Regions from separate parts of the Homo sapiens genome. Here regions 1, 2, 4 and 5 are each linked to region 3. Evidence: promoter capture Hi-C in human tissues and cell types (Jung and others, 2019). All regions are on one chromosome and are shown on one strand. Each heading gives the region's core, a stretch centred on a gene start or on the middle of the fragment in contact. The rest is flanking DNA. Distances are from core to core; before and after follow the strand shown.

Region 1 (3,208 bases), core at 487-2,986, 460 kb before region 3:
AAAAGGTCAAAGGGTGTGAATCATAGTAAATAAGATGATCAAATTTTAAGCTACCTTTTGTTTTAGCTTTTTGTAGTCTTCTATGATAAAACCCCTTGGCAGAAAGCAGAATCAATGCATCTGAAATTCTCACAACACACCAATTTATACAGTGTTCTATGATGCAAGAAGCCCCTTAACATACATCATCTCATTTAGTGCTGACCACCATCAAAACCAGGTACTGCCCATGCCTGGAGTTTCATAAGAAATAAGTACTATGCTAGGGCTTAAACCTACTCTGTAATTATTTCTCAAGCATAGAAAATCTGCTTAAATAAGAAGAGGTGATAAGAAGACTGAAAAATAGCCTTGCTGTCCTAAGAGGTGGTGACTGTTAAGGAATTGAATAGACATGTATCCTGTGCTTAAGGAGAGATTTTGCTCCTATGGACTGAGATTCTAGCAGGTAAAATGATTACAGAAACATCAAATGCTAAGTACTCAAAATACAAAATATAATTCCAAATGACACCAGTAAAAACTCAAGTAGTCTGAATAGGCAATGCAGCTATCTAGCAGGTTTCTGAATGAATAATTACTGACAGGACACAGGAAAAAGGAAAAGAACACTTAATTTGGTATTCTGGATCAGCTTAATCTACTTGGATAATAAACCAGACTGAAAAACATTAATTGTTAAGGCAGAATTACCATCAGAATAGTATCACAAAGCCTGAGAGGAAAATGTACAGTCATGTATTGCTTAACAAGGGGGGTACATTCTGAGAAATGCATTGTTAGGAGATTTCATTGTTGTGGTAACATCATATAATGTACTTTCACAAACCTACTAAGTGTATGAGGTACTTACACATCATACAGTGTACTTCACAAATCTATTAGATACCTAGGCTATATGGTATAGTCTGTTGTTCCTAGGCTACAAACCTGTACAGCATGTTTCTGTAATAAAGACTTGTAAGCAACTATAACTTAACAGTATCTGTGTATCTAAACATGGAAAAGTTACAGTAAAAATACAGTATAAAAATTTTTTAGGCCGGGGCACGGTGGCTCACACCTGCAACCCGAGCACTTTGGGAGGCCAAAGTGGGCGGATCACGAGGTCAGGAGATCGAGACCATCCTGGCTAACACGGTGAAATCCCATCTCTACTAAAAATACAAAAAATTAGCCAGGCATGGTGGCATGCACCTGTAGTCCCAGCCACTCAGGAGGCTGAGGCAGAAGAATCGCTTGAACCCAGGAGGTAGAGGTTGCAGTGAACCGAGATGGCACCACTGCACTCCAGCCTGGGCAACAGAGCGAGATGCCGTCTCAAAAAAACAAAATTTAAATGGTACACCTGTATAGGGAACTAACTATAAACAAAGCTTGCAGGACTGGAAGTTGCTTTGAGTAAGTGAGTGGTGAGTGAGTGAATATGAAGGCCTAGGACATTACTGTACACTACTGTAGACTATAAACACTTGGGCTACACTAAGTTTATTAACATTTTTTTAATAAATTAACTGTAACTTACTATAACTTTTTTACTTTATAAACAAATTTTTTCAACTTTTTAACTCTTTTATAACACTTATCTTAAAATACAAACACATTCTACAGCTGTATAAACAACCCTCCTCCCTCCTCCTCGCCAGGGTGGAGAGCAGTGGTGCGATCTGGGCTCACTGCAACCTCCACCTCCCGGGTTCAAGCAATTCTCCTGCCTCAGCCTCCCGAGTACCTGGGACTACAGGTGCGTGCCACCACGCCTGGCTAATTTTTTTTATTTTAGCAGAGACGGGGTTTCACCATGTTGGCCAGGATGGTCTCCATCTCCTAACCTTGTGATCTGCCCACCTCAGCCTCCCAAAGTGCTGGGATTACAGGTGTGAGCCACCGTGCCTGGCCTATATTTTTTTTAAAAAAGAGTCTCATTCTGTCACCCAGGCTGGAATGCAGTAGTGTGATCATAGCTTACTGTAGCCTTGAACTCCTGGACTGAAGCAATCCTCCCATCTCAGCCTCCCGAGTATGTGCCACCACGCCCAGCTAATTAAAAACAAATTTGTAGAGACAGGGTTTCGCTATGTTGTCTAGGCTAGTCTTGAACTCTTGTGTTTGAGTGATTCTCCTGCCTTGGCCTCCCAGATTGCTGGGATTACAGATGTGAGACAACACACTGGGCCAAATATTTTTTTTATATCCTTATTCTTATTCTATAAGTTTTTTATAGAATAAGTTTTCTAAATATATATATATATATATATATATATATATATATATATATATATGTATTCTTATATATATAAACTTATTCTTTTTTTTTTTTTTTTGAGACAGAGTCTGGCTCTGTCGCCCAGGCTGGAGTGCAGTGGCACGACCTCGGCTCACTGCAAGCTCCGCCTCCCGGGTTCACGCCATTCTCCTGCCTCAGCCTCCCGAGTAGCTGGGACTACAGGTGCCCACCACCACACCTGGCTAATTTTTTGTATTTTTAGTAGAGATGGGGTTTCACCTTGTTAGCCAGGATGGCCTCGATCTCCTGACCTTGTGATCCGCCCGCCTCAGCCTCCCAAAGTGCTGGGATTACAGGTGTGAGCCACCGCGCCTGGCCTATATATAAACTTATTCTATGAGTTTATATTATATATTAAATATATAAACTTATTCTGAGTTTATATTATATATTATATATATAAACTTATTCTATGAGTTTATATTATTATATATAAACTTATTCTGAGTTTATATTATATATATTATATATATAAACTTATTCTGAGTTTATATTATATATAATATATAAATTTATTCTGAGTTTATAGTATATATTATATATATAAACTTATTCTGAATTTATATATTATATATAAACTTATTCTATAAGTTTATATATTTGTACATATATTTATATGTTTTTCTTATATATATAAATTTATGTTTCTTATATATATAAACATATATATATATGGGAAAAACATACATTTTGATAGAGGAAACATGACCAAGTATTTCATAGATCAGTAAGGTATCTATATTTTAGAATAATCTTATTGTATATTTCAAAATAGCTAGAAGAGAATAATTGAATGTTTCTAGCATAAAGAAAAGACAAATATTTATGGTGATGGATATCTCAATACACTGATTTTTACAAATTATATGAATATATTAAATTATCACATGTACCCTGAAAATATGTACACCTATTATGTAT
Region 2 (3,234 bases), core at 592-3,091, 340 kb before region 3:
CTATTCATTCTGCACATCCCAACACAAGGCAAGAAGAATCTAGAAAACAATGCACAACCTACATTGAGCTCCACCTCCTATAATTCCTATTAGATGTTATTTGTATCAAGTCAGCACCCTCCTACATAGTATTATTATACTCTGTAGTTGTTTTTCCTATACAGATAATCTTTCTGTTACATATTGCTTTGTTAACAGATTTTAATTACATAATATATCTATCTTACCAACTTTATAAGTTTGTTGTAGGCAGAAGCAATCTGTCTTTCCTATTTTATAGTGTTTGAGGCTGTAGGTAGCAAGTGTTGAATGAATAACTACTTTGTTACTTCTGAAAAGCTTACTTTTTGATTAATACTTTTCCTTTTTACCAATTCCTTTTTCTTTTTTTTTCAGGCTCATCCATGGAATACCAATTCTTTTTCTTAGTGTTCACATTGGATTTTTCTGTTAAAAATAGATTGTTGGAGTTGGCTAACAAGTTGATTACTTCCAGTCAGGCACTCTCTTCTGTAAAGTCTCTTTTGTAAACTCCTACAAGCAGCTATTTCACTGGATTTGAAAAGACTGACTAAAAAGAACCATGCACTGTAACTCTCAAGTATACAGGAATATTGTTATTAGGTAATTTTTTTTTTCAATATGTGTTAACCTTGTCTTCCCTACAATTTTCTTTTTCTTTTTTTTTTTTTTTTGAGATGGAATCTCACTCTGTCGCCCAGGCTGGAGTGCGGTGGCACAATCTCAGCTCACTGCAACCTCTACTGCCTGGGTTCAAGCGATTCTCCTGCCTCAGCCTCCTGAGTAGCTGGGATTACAGACGCGCGCCACCATACCCAGCTAATTTTTTGTATCTTTAGTAGAGACGGGGTTTCACCATCTTGGCCAGGCTGGTCTTGAACTCCTGACCTTGTGATCCACCCGCCTCAGCCTCCCAAAGTGCTGGGATTACAGGCATGAGCCACGGCGCCCAGCCTCCCTACAGTTTTCAAACATTCAGAGAGGTGATTATGGTGTATCTTTTATTCTGTTTTGCTTTGGATCTTGGCGTTCTTCTAGAGAACTCATCTGCTCAGGAGCTTCTCAGTGCATCTTCCCTCCCAAACTTGTCTTACCCAGCAGAGAATGAATGTACTCAAGATTACCAGTTTTGCAGATGAATAAACCAATGATTCCAGAGGTTATGGTGCATATCTAGAGTCACATGACTAAGAAATGATAAAACCAGGATTTCAGCCAGGTTATCTGTTTCAAGACATTTTCAGACAAAAAAATCTGGAGTTTGCCACCAACAAGAAATGATCCTAGCCTCAGCATCTCAGCCCACACTGGGAGTGTCAGGTGCTGAAAAAAAATTTTTTTAATTTTACATAGTAAATAATTTTATAAAAAAGAAAGAAATGATCCCTTATACAAGAAGGAATGATAAAAATATTAGTAAATAAGTGGTTAAAACTAAAAACTTTTTACCATACAAAGTAATAGTAAGTAATTTGTGTGGTTAATAAGGTAAAGCAAGATGGAACTGATACTCTGGACAACAAAGTCATATATTTAGAAGCAGGATGAGTGGAGTGATGGTTGGAGTTGAAGTTTTCCAAGGTCCTGGTATTGTTTGGGAAGTGGGTAAAAATATTGATTAACTTTAACCTTTACTCTTTTAAGTGTATAAGATAAAATATGTAGGGTAACTGCTTTTCCAAATTAACAGAAGAAAATAGAATAAAGAAAAATACAAAAAAAAAGGCCGAGCATGGTGGCTCACGCCTGTAATCCCAGCACTTTGAGATGCTGAGGCGGAAGGATTGCTTGAGACCAGGAGTTTAAGACCAGCCTGTGCAACATAGCCAGACTCCCTCCCAGCTCTACAAAAAACAAAAGAGATTAGCCAGCTGTGGTGGTGCACACCTATAGTCCCAGCTACTTGGGAGGCTGAGGCAGGGGGAATACATTTCAGTTTTAAAGAGTGCAAAATGGACAAGAAAATAAAACTTAGGCCAGGTATGGTGGCTCACGCCTGTAATCCCAGCACTTTGGGAGGCTCAGGCAGGTGAATTGCTTTAACTAAGGGGCTCAAGACCACCCTGGACAACATGATGAAACCCCATCTCTACCTAAAATACAAAAAAATTGGCTGGGTGCGGTGGCTCACACCTGTAATCCTAGCACTTTGGGAGGCTGAGATGGGCAGATCACCTGAGGTCAAGAGTTCAAGACCAGCCTGCCCAACATGGCAAAACCCCATCTCTACTAAAAATACAAAAATTACCCGGGCATGCTGGCATGTGCCTGTAATCCCAGCTACTTAGGAGGTTGAGGCAGGAGAATCACTTGAACTCAGGAGACGGAGGTTGCAGTGAGCCGAGATCACGCCACTGCACTCCAGCCAGAGCAAGACTCCATCTCAAAAAAATTAGCCAGACATCATGGCACATGCCTGTGGTCCCAGCTAGTCAGGAGGCTGAAGTGGGAGGATCTCTTGAGCCCAGGAGTTCAAAGTTACGGTGAGCAATGATCTTGCCACTGTACACCAGCCTAGATCACAAAGCAAGACTGTCTCTTTTAAAAAAAAAAGGCCAGGCATGGTGTCTCACACCTATAATCCTAGCACTTTGGGAGGCTGAGGTGGGCGGATTACTTGAAGTCAGGAGTTCGAGATCAGCCTGGCCAGCATGGTGAAACCCCTTCTCTACTAAAAATACAAAAATTAGCTAGGCATGGTTGCATGCACCTGTAGTCCCAGCTATTTGGGAGGCTGAAGCATGAGAATCGCTTGAACCTGGGAGGCAGAGTTTGCAGTGAGCTGAGATTATGCCACTGCGCTCCAGCCTGGGCAACAGAGCAAGATCCTGTCTCAACAAAAAACCATTTCACCTCTTTATGTGGCTTCTAGAAAATTTAAAATCACATTTGTGACTTCCATTTTATTTCTCTTGGACAGCACTGATCTAGGATATATATAGAACTAATGTAAGTGAATAAGAGAAAGACAACCCAGCTTTTTAAATTGGTAAATACCTCAGAAGAGGAAAAATTAATGTCCAGGAAACATTTGAAAAGCTGTTTCAGGGAAATCAGGGTGCTGGTCAGAGTGTTAATTGATACAATCATTTTGGAAAACAAGTTGGTTGGCATTACCTAGTAGAGTTGCATATGGGCATATCTTAAAACCCAACAATTGTTCTTAGATATACAAATTAAAACTCTTGCAAATATACACCAAAAGACATGTCT
Region 3 (3,465 bases), core at 670-3,169:
GGTCTCTGCAGAGCCTGACTGTCCTGCTCCATTCACCTCTATTTCTGTCAGTGACAGGGAAGGTCAGGATCAAGTGATATCATGCATGCCACCTCCTTGCCGTGTGACCTTCCACAAATGCCTTAACTTCTCTGGGCTTCAGGTTTTTTCACTTACAAAATGTGAAAGATCACATCGTCAGACCTTCAGTGTTACCCCTAGTGCTGTCATTTCCTGGTGCCCACTTGATTACTCCATTCTTTCACCTGGCCCTAGGCTGACTTTGGAAGTGCCAGTGGTAACTGGCAAGGTAATCAGAGTCATCTGGACAAGAACTGCCTGGCAACTAAAATCCACAAGGATCTACTGAAAGCTACAATTTGGCGCTATGGGGTCATAAAAAGGCTTTAGACACTTAGTATCCTGGTTGCCTGGAGGAGTTTACCATTTCATTAGGAAGACAAAGATTATGAATAAACCAGGCTGGGCGTGGTGGCTCACGCCTGTAATCCCAGCACTTTGGGAGGCAGAGGCGGGCGGATCACCTGAGGTCAGGAGTTCCAGACCAGCCTGGCCAACATGGTGAAACCCCGTCTCTAACAAAAAATACAAAAAAAAATCAGCCAAGTAATTAGCCCGGTGTGGTAGCGCACGCCTGCAATCCCAGCTACTTGGGAGGCTGAATAAGGAGAATCACTTGAACCCGGGAGGTGAGGTTGCAGGGAGCCGAGATCGCGCCAGTGCACTCCAGCCCAGGCGAGGGAGCGAGACTCCATCAAAAATAAATAAATAAATAAATAAGCCAAAAGATACACTCCTGAAAGAGGTTACTCCTACGTTAAAATGTGAAAGGTTTCAAGGTACCCCGGAGTGTGAGGAGGGTGGAGAGAACAGGCCAGCCTGGGGTGCCCAAGACGGACTTGGTCCAAGCCAATTTGGCTCTGTCCTGCTTCTAACAGTTCTATTAGAGATCACAAGGAGGAAGAGTAAGAAGAACAGCAGCGTTCAATACAATGTGCCAATTGCTCCGGGGCGAGGTGGCGGTTAGGAAGCTCGCCCATGAAGACGGCGGCGAAACGAACTCCCCTCTCCTCTCGGGCCTATTCTGCAGTCTCCTCTGAGCGCCTGGGACCCCCCACCCCAGTGAACATGCACAGCGCGCCACAGTTCACGTCCGCGAATATAACCCAACCCCACTGTCGGCCATGCTTCCCAGGTACTTTTTTTTTTTTTTTTTGAGGTGGAGTCCCGCTCTGTCGCCCAGGCTGGAGTGCGGTGGCGAGATCTCGGGTCACTGCAACCTCCGCCTCCCGGGTTCAAGCAATTCTCCTGTCTCAGCCTCCCGAGTAGCTGAGATTACAGGCATGAGCCACCACGCCCGGCTAATTTTTGTATTTTTCGTAGAGACGGGGGTTTCACCATCTTGGCCAGACTTGTCTCGAACTCTTGACCTTAGATGATGCACCCGCCTCGGCCTCCCAAACTGCTGGGATTACAGGGGTGAGCCACCGCGCCCGGCCGCTTCCCAGGGACTTTTAAGGACACGCACAGCCGTTGAGAATATGCGAGATGGCCCAGAAGCCCACTTTCGGCGGGCCCAAGCCTCCAGTCCAATCCCCGGGTCGATCCTCTGCGGACTACAACTCCCAGGTACCCCGTGCCGGGTCGTCGCGCCATTCCCCGGGGTCGTGCGCACCGCCTCCCGGATGCAGTATTCCGCTGCCCTGCCAGGTCCCGCCCCCTTCCGGCCAGCGGGACCTCTTACCTGCTCCGCCCTGTCGGGGGTGGTGTTAAGCAGGTTATTAAGTTCCACGAACATTCCGAGCTCCTGGGACTAGCGCTCTGGAGGAGAACCCGGAGTGCTGCAGAGACGACGGAGGCTGGAGAGCAAAACACACCCGACAGCCCGGCTCGCGCAAGGAAGCGCGCATGCGCAATGCCACTTTTGCGAGCCAGCCACAGCCAATGAGGCGGGTGCCTCGATGGGACCGCTGCGCACGCGCGTAGACGTCCGTCGAGTCCCAGGTGGTAGGAAACGATGGGCTTCTCTGTGCGACTGCCAGCGGCCTCTGGCGGCTCATTCCGCGCAGATCTGCGTGGCGCCCGAGCCCTCCCAGTGGGCCCCCAAGGCTCCACGCGACCGAGTATTCTTCTTCCCTTGGCCTCGCTCTCTGCCCAGCCCCGGGCTCCTTTTCTCCACACGTGGCTGTCAAGCGCCTTCTGTATGCCCCACACTCCTGGGAGCTTGGGCTACATCGATGAACAAAAACAAAGGACAGGGAATTTATTATTATTATTATTATTATTATTATTATTATTATTATTTAATTGAGACGGAGTCTTGCCCTGTCGCCCAGGCTGGAGTGCAGTGGCGCGATCTCGGCTCACTACAGTCTCCGCCTCCTGGGTTCACGCCATTCTCCTGCCTCAGCCTCCCGAGTGTAGCTGGGACTACAGGCGCCCGCCACCACGCCCGGCTAATTTTTTGTATTTTTAGTAGAGACGGGGTTTCACCGTGTTAGCCAGGATGGTCTTGATCTCCCGACCTCGTGATCCGCCGGCCTCGGCCTCCCAAAGTGCTGGGATTACAGGCATGAGCCACCACGCCCGGCCGACACGGAATTATATCTTGAAAAGTTGTGTGGAGAAAAGCAAAGTGGGATTAGAGAGTACCAATGGGGGCAGGGGTAGGTTCCAGAATTAAAGAGGTTGTCAGGGTGGGTCTCACTAAGAAAGTGTGGTTGCGGCTGGGCGCGGTGGCTCACACCTGTAATGCCAGCACTTTGGGAGGCCTAGACGGAGGGATCACGAGGTCAGGAGTTCGAGACTAGCCTGGCCAATATAGTGAAACCCCCTTCTCTATTAAAAATACAAAAAATTAGCCTGGCGTGGTGGGGGGCGCCTGTCATCCCAGCCACTCGGGAGGCTGAGCCAGTAGAATCGCTTGAACCTGGGAGGCAGAGGTTGCAGTAAGCCGAGATCACGCCATTGCTCTCTAGCCTGGGCAGCAGTGTGAGACTTCGTTAAAAAACAGTGTGGTTGCAACACGCCCTGTATGCCTGTCCTCAGAGCCTTTATACTAACTCTTCCCTCTTCCTGGAATGCCCCTTTTCCCAGATATTAAGCTGATTTTAAAATTCCCCACTTCCTTCAGGTCTCTGCTCCGATGTCACTTTATTCGTGAGGCCTTCCCTGAGCACCTTACTTAAATCACAAACTGTCCCTTTCCCAACACTTCTTTTTCCTTGCTTTTATTTTTTTCCATAACATTTATATCTATTATACCGTATATAGTTTTGTTCTAGCCCAATCAGCCTCAGATCAGTGGACAAACCTGTAATTCCACCAAAGTCAAGTTTATTGACAGTCACTAAAATAATTGTTATATGATTTGGGAAAGAGTCGAATTCAGGTGAAATTTAAGTGAACCGGTGTTTGATATGCTCAAAGCACAGCACAGCTGTGTGTGGAGTCCTAATCTGGCGT
Region 4 (3,608 bases), core at 823-3,322, 450 kb before region 3:
TAAATCAATAAATAAGTTTGTTGGAAATGTAACTAAGTGGTAAAGTCCAGAAACCAGATTCCCATGGCCTCCCTGCTATCCATTCTGAAACAATGATTCTAACTTTTTCAGGGGTGACTGAGAATCTGATCAAAGTTTTGAACTTGCCTCAGAAAAGTAAATACAGTCAACCCTTGAACAACATGAGTTTGAACTGGATGAAAGTCCACTTATATGTGGATTTTCTTCTAACTGTGCCACCCAAGACAGCAAGACTAATCCCTCTTCTTCCTCGTCAGTCTGCTCAAGGTGAAGATAAGGATGAAGACCTCTATGATGATCTATTTCCACTTAATGAAGAGTAAATATATTTTCTCTTATGATTTTCTTAATAACATTTTTATCTAGCTTACTTTATTTTAAGAATACAGTTACATAATACACATAACATACATAATATGAGGAGTCAAAAGTTATGTGGAATTTCGACGCACAGGGTATCTGTATCTCCTATGTTGTTCAAGGGTCAACTGTGTACATACAGAATTTTACATGTAAACATCTTTTTTCCTTTTAGAGACAGGGCCTCACTTTGTTGCTCAGGCTGGAGTACAGTGGCACGATCATGGCTCACTGCAGCCTCAATCTCCTAGGCTCAGGTGATCCTCCTACCTCAGCCTCCTGGTAATTAGGATTATAGGCACACACCACCACACTTAGCTAATATTTTTGTATTTTTTGTAGAGACAGGGTTTCACCATGTTTCCCAGGCTGGTCTCAAACTCTTGGGCTCAAGCAATCCACCTGCTTCAACTTCCCAAAGTGCTAGGATTACAGGTGTGAGCCACCCTGCCCAGCTGCATATAAATATCTTGAGGTAAAGACCCTCCCAAAGACATCTAGAAGTATAGGTTTAAGAATGTCTGCTCTATCTGGTGCGAAGGAAAAAAAAAATCAAAATCACAATAATAAAAGAAAAAAAGACTAAATAAAAAAAATAAAGAATGTCTGCTCTAGAGGACAAACGAATAGAAAAAAAGCTAGTAAAGACTGAGTTCAAGGAAAGCGACAACAAAACAGTGTAAGAGACATTTCCTTTGGCAAAATGCATTAAGAATAAAAGCACAAGTTTCCAAACTTTTACACCAAATATTTCATTTACCTAGTTATATATTCTCTAGTTTCAAAAACAAAAACGCTTAAGTTCTTATCAGTTACCTCTGCACATAACAAAAGAATATTTGTAAAGCCATCAACACAGAGTATCTCTGAATACCTACTTGTGTTTTCCTTTTCAGTTTGACTTTTCTTTGGAATTCGATATACCTCCTGCAAAAAATAAACCAGAGGGAGGGTTATTAGTGAGGGTGGAAATGGTGATTGCTTTGAAACTGACTGTTTTCACATGACAATAAAGAAATGGAAAGTAACAAGCTGGTACTTATTCTCTAAAATTTGACTTATATCTGGGCTTTAAATAAGAATATATCCTGGCCCCTTAAAAACAAGAAAAAATATATAGCAGAAATACATATATTTACATCTATCAAGCTTGTACGATCTCACTAGCAAAGCAGCATACTAAATGACTGGGCAAGGATACGCTTCCTGAGCATCTTTTTTTTTTTTTTTTTTTTTTTTTTGAGACAAGGTCTTGCTCTGTCACCCAGGCTGAAGGGCAGTGGCATGATCTCGGCTCACTGCAACCTCTGCCTCCCAGGCACAAGCAATCCTTCTGCCCCAGCCTCCCAAGTAGCTGGGACCACAGGTGGATGCCACCATGCCCCGCTAATTTTTTCTATTTTTGTAGAGATGGGGTTTTATCACATTGCCCAGGCTGGTCTCGAACTCCTGGGCTCAAGCAATCTACTCAGCCTCCCAAAGTGCTGGGATTACAGGCGTGAGCCACCATGCCTGGCCAAGTATTCATAATTCTAATGTGCACTTGCCATCTCTACTTAGAGAAAGAAAAGGTTAATAACTACCCAGTTATATAAAAACACTTCAGAAAAATTGTATGTGTAAAGACAATTCCTACTATTCAGTGTATTTTTCTATAAATGCAAAACCAACATGACTAATGGCCAATGTAATATCTACTTTCACATTGTGTTTGTTATAAAAAATAAAAAATATAAAGGATAAGCATTAGATCACTGCTCCTCTTGATCACTGTACCAAAATTGATCCTGAGAAATGTGAACTGTTTTAAAGGCTTTTAAGTACCTTTTCTTGTGTTATCTAAGGCCTAGAACCTATTTTGTTCTTTAACAGCTCTTCACTATTCCACCGTCCATCGAGTAACTATTGGGCACAATACTTTCTTATCCAGTCATCTTAAGTGGGACAGTAACAAGCCTACACACTCTCAATAGTACATAAGGTGATATCATCCCTTCAGAGGAATCTCATAATATTAACCACACCTGTGGCCTCCTCTCCACAATTGTTGCTTCTCACAATATTTGTGAAAAATAATAAGCCACATGTCACACAACTGAGGAAAGGTCATGATGTAATATTCAGTTGCCATTAAAAAGGATCAATATGGACTGCACAGATCCAGGGAAATCTATATAAATGAAAAATTTTTTTAAACCTCCAATACTATATGCATGCTGACAAATTAATAAAGATGATTATAATTAATTGTGCACTTATACTGTGTGCCAGATATCATGCTGAACATTTCAAATACACTATCTTTTTTTTTTTTTTTTTTTTTGAGACGGAGTCTTGCTCTGTCATCCAGGCTGGGGTAAAGCGGCACAATCTCAGCTTACTGCAACCTCTGCCTCCTGGGTTCAAGCAATTCTCCTGCCTCAGCCTCCTGAGTAGCAGGGATTATAGGCACACACCACCATGCCCAGCTAATTTTTGTATTTTTAGTAAAGACAGGGTTTCACCATGTTAGCCAGGTTGGTCTCGAACTCCTGATCTCATGATCTTCCCACCCTGGCCTCCCAAAGTGCTAGGATTACAGGCGTAAGCCACTGCGCCCGGCCTATCTTTTTGTTTTGTTTTGTTTTTTGAACCGGGGTCTCTGTCGCACAGGCTGGAGTGCAGTGGTGCGATCTCAGCTCATTGCAACCTCCACCTCCCAGGTTCAAGCGATTCTCCTTAGCCTCCCCAGTAACTGGGATTACAGGTGCATGCCACCATGCTTGGCTAATTTTTGTATTTTTAGTAGAGATGGGGTTTCATCATGTTGGCCAGACTGGTCTCGAACTCCTGACCTCATGATCTGCCCACCTTGGCCTCCCAAAGTTCTGGGATTACAGATGTGAGCCACCGCACCCGGCCCTTCAAATACATTATCTTATTTGAGCTTCAAAACGACCCTATGAGGTAAGTACTATTACCTCAATTTTCCAAAAAGGAAACTTACTTAAAAAGCTTAGCAATCTACCCAAGGTTATGATGCTACCAGACAGTCTAACTCAAGAGCACTTTTATCTTCTGTATTAGATGACACAGGACATGCCTAACAACATTATTTTGAGAAGGAGTACCATTCTGAGATTTATGCACAAATGCAGGTGACATCCTCCATCCCCTTAACCTCTCCTTCCTATGTAGAAGAACTTTCATTAGAGCTGTGATTCTCTACCCTGGTTGTACAATTAAAC
Region 5 (3,371 bases), core at 357-2,856, 480 kb after region 3:
TCTCCAAACAGCCATCACCCCTTCCTTTAAGTTAAGACTTCTACAACTTTTAGGAAGCTGGTATGGAAAAAATGTAGTAATTTACAACCTATCATAATTATAAACTTTATTATTATTATTATTTTTAGAGACGGGGTCTCTCTCTGTCACCCAGGCTGCAGCACAGTGGTGCTTTTATGGCTCACTGCAGCCTCGACCTCTGGGGCTCAAGTGATTGCCTCCTACCTCAGCTTCCTGTGTAGCTCGGACTACAGGCGCACACTACCACGCCCAGCTATAATTATAAACTTTAAACATGGTATCTTCAACAAGTTCGTGGAAAATGCATTCTATGAAAAAATTATTCATGGATTTCAAGGGAGTTTTTTTGTATCAAAATAACTCATACTCCAGCCTGACCAATATGGCGAAACCCCATCTCTACTAAAAATACAAAAATTAGCTGGGCATGGTAGCATGTGCCTATAAGCCCAGCTACTCAGGAGGCTGAGGCAGGAGAATCTCTTGAACACAGGAGGTAGAGGTTGCAGTGAGCCGAGACTGTGCCACCGCACTCCAGCCTGGGTGACAGAGAGACACTCCATCTTAAAAAAAAAAAAAAAAAGCTCATACTAACTTGTTATAACACGTCTGAACAGGATCTAGTTTGAAGCACTAAAAAGGATAAAACATCAGTTTGAAAAGAGCCCCTAATAAAGCAACATGAATTCTGCTAAAATTGAAGCAAAAGCAAATGGTAAATTTATGGTGAAGCTTGGATGAAAGAATGGTGAAATCACTGATGCTTTGTGTAAAGTTTATGGGGACAATGCCCCAAACAAATCAGTAGTTTACACATGAATAACTTGTTTTAAGACATCAGCCAGATGCAGTGGTCCGCACCTATAGTCCCAGCTACTTGGAAGGCTGAGACAGGAGGATCACTTGAGCCCAGGAGTTCAAGGCTGTAGTGTGCTATGGTTACACCTGTAAATAGTCACTATACTCTAATTTGGGCAATGTAGTAAGACTCTGTCTCAAAAAAAGAAAAAAAATAAAGGAGGAGATGATGTTGAAGATGAAGCCCACCGTGGCAGACCACCAATATCAATTTGAGAGGAAAAAAGAATGATCTAATTGAAGAGGATTGACAATTAGCAGAAACAATAGCCAATACCACAGACATCTCAATTGGTTCAGTTTATACAATTTTGGCTGATAAATTAAAATTGAGCAAACTTTCCACTCAACTGGTGCCAAAATGGTTGCATCCAGATGAGCTGCAAAGAGCAGAGCTTTCGATGTAAATTTTAAACAAGTGGGATCAAGATCCTGAAGCATTTCTTTGAAGAATTGTAACAGGAGATGAAATATGGTTTTACCAGTATAATCCTAAAGACAAAGCACAATCAAAGCAATGGCTACCAAGAGGCGTAAGTGCTGTAGTCAAAGCAAAAGTGGATCAGTCAAGAGCAAACACAAGAGTTTTTTAGGATGCTCAAAGCACTTTGTCTGTTGACTTTCTGGAGAGCCAAAGAATGACAACATCTTATTATGAGGGTGTTTTGAGAAAGTCAGCCAATGCTTTAGCAGAAAAACAGCCAGGAAAGCTTCATCAGAGAGTCCTTCTCCACCAGGACAATGCTCCTGTTCATTCCTTTCATCAACAAAGATAATTTGTGACAGTTTTGATGAGAAATCATTAGGCAACCACCTTACAACAGTCCTGATTTGGTTCCTTCTTTTTTGTTTCCTAATCTTTAAAAAAATCTTTGGTAGCAACAAAAAATTAAAAACTTAAACCAAAAAAAACTTTAAAGGGCATCCATTTTTCTTCATTTCTTCATTTTTCTTCATTTAATAATGTAAAAAAGCCAGGCACAGTGGCTCACACCTATAATCCCAGCACAAAAGAAAAACAAATATTTACTCCAAAAAATTTGGATTCCTTAATGGAAAACGGGAAAATCTATTCTCTCTTAATCCATAATGCACGGTGGAGACATTTGTTCTTTGACTGACTAACATAAACAAAGAAAACCTAGTATGAAGAAAGGAATGATAAGATGTAAATATGGTAGCAACTAGTCATGGTTGAGATGCTCTTCCCATCCTAATATTAACTTACCCTCATCAGTCATAGGTGAAAGAAGCTAGCTGCTTTTCGTTTTCTAATTTCCTTTAACTGTGCATTGTTTCCATCATCTGGGAATGAGCCTAGGTGGATAAGGACAGTGAGGTGGTAGCAGTAGATTTTCTTGTGCTTCATCTTGAGTTATTTGATCCATGTAACATTAACTTGGCCCAAGAGGAGGAAAGTTTTTAAGACATTATTTTATTTATAAAAAATTAAATCCTCCCTGCTACTTTTGATATGTAAATGGTGGCTCATGCCTGTAATCCCAGCACTTTGGGAGGCCAAGGCAAGTGGATCACCTGAGGTCAGGAGTTTGAGACCAGCCTGGCCAACAGGGCGAAACCCCATCTCTACTAAAAATACAAAAATTAGCCAGGCATGGTGGTGCAGGCCTGTAATCCCAGCTACTGGGGTGTTGAGGCAGGAGGATCGCTTGAACCTGGGAGGCGGAGGATGCAGTGAGCAGAGATCGTGCCACTGCACTCCAGCCTGTGCAATAGAGCGGGACTCCATCTCAAAAAAAAAAAAAAAAAGTTCATTAACTCAGAAAGACTACTCCAGAAATTGGCGAGTGGTTACTCCAGGAAGGAGAACTGTCTGGCTAGGGTGTAGGGATTGGGAGAATTTGTTTTACCGTACATCCCTTTGGACCAATTGGATTTTGTACATGTGTATTTTTTAGCCTGTTCAAAAAATGTATGAGTTTCTGGAAAATTGAATTAAAGGATAAAAATAAAATATGAACTTTACTTCTCAACATAAGCTTTTGCAACATCAAGATACTTTTGTAAGCAATGATAGCAACTTTTTTTCTTTTCTTTTTTTTTTTTTTTTTTGAGACAGAGTCTCGTTCTCTCGCCCAGGCTGGAGTGCAGTGGCACGCTCTCCACTCACTGCCACCTCCGCCTCCCAGGTTCAAGTGATTCTTGTACCTCAGCCTCCTGAGTACCTGGGATTACAGGTGCACACCATTACCCCTGGCTAATTTTTGTATTTTTAGTAGAGGTATGGTTTCACCATGTTGGCCAGGCTGGTCTCAAACTCCTGACCTCAGGTGAGCCACCTGCCTTGGTCTCCCAAAGTGCTGGGATTACAGGCGTGAGCCACTGCACCTGGTCTGGAGTAAATATTTATATGGATATAATTAGAACTCTCGGTACTTTTTTAAATGAGTTGTGGTCTGCCCCCCCTCCCCAACACACAAATTAAACATATATTAAGGAAGCAGGTTTTCTTCTTCCACTTGGCTGTAGAA

Evidence for each region. Contacts are between HindIII fragments. The study calls those that stand out against the background at their distance.
Region 1: a contact is called between a fragment that was not itself captured here and the fragment with the promoter of ELP6 in region 3, in 1 of the 25 tissues and cell types used here (adrenal gland).
Region 2: a contact is called between a fragment that was not itself captured here and the fragment with the promoter of ELP6 in region 3, in 1 of the 25 tissues and cell types used here (dorsolateral prefrontal cortex).
Region 4: a contact is called between a fragment that was not itself captured here and the fragment with the promoter of ELP6 in region 3, in 1 of the 25 tissues and cell types used here (aorta).
Region 5: a fragment that was not itself captured here is called in contact with the fragment with the promoter of ELP6 in region 3 in 2 of the 25 tissues and cell types used here (dorsolateral prefrontal cortex and hippocampus).

Annotation. Positions count from the first base shown.
Region 1 is chr3:47,047,067-47,050,274 of GRCh38, forward strand. The region is part of intron 15 of SETD2 (SET domain containing 2, histone lysine methyltransferase); the gene reads right to left. Among named protein-coding and RNA genes, the nearest start is that of NBEAL2, 69 kb to the left of the region's middle. The HindIII fragment of the contact is 6,243 bases long and covers 1-3,208 here.
Region 2 is chr3:47,168,773-47,172,006 of GRCh38, forward strand. KIF9-AS1 (KIF9 antisense RNA 1) reads left to right here. Exons shown (of 7, transcript NR_033373.1): 2 at 397-624. Among named protein-coding and RNA genes, the nearest start is that of KIF9-AS1, 6.0 kb to the left of the region's middle. The HindIII fragment of the contact is 5,548 bases long and covers 1-3,234 here.
Region 3 is chr3:47,511,793-47,515,257 of GRCh38, forward strand. ELP6 (elongator acetyltransferase complex subunit 6) reads right to left here and starts at 1,920. Exons shown (of 7, transcript NM_001031703.3): 1 at 1,745-1,920. The coding sequence starts at 1,798. RefSeq lists enhancers at 1,335-1,444, 1,775-1,884. The HindIII fragment of the contact is 13,702 bases long and covers 1-3,465 here.
Region 4 is chr3:47,065,811-47,069,418 of GRCh38, forward strand. SETD2 (SET domain containing 2, histone lysine methyltransferase) reads right to left here. Exons shown (of 21, transcript NM_014159.7): 13 at 1,260-1,308. Among named protein-coding and RNA genes, the nearest start is that of NBEAL2, 88 kb to the left of the region's middle. RefSeq lists an enhancer at 1,607-2,212. The HindIII fragment of the contact is 3,352 bases long and covers 397-3,608 here.
Region 5 is chr3:47,992,317-47,995,687 of GRCh38, forward strand. All of the region lies in intron 2 of MAP4 (microtubule associated protein 4), which reads right to left. Among named protein-coding and RNA genes, the nearest start is that of MAP4, 22 kb to the right of the region's middle. The HindIII fragment of the contact is 4,265 bases long and covers 1-3,371 here.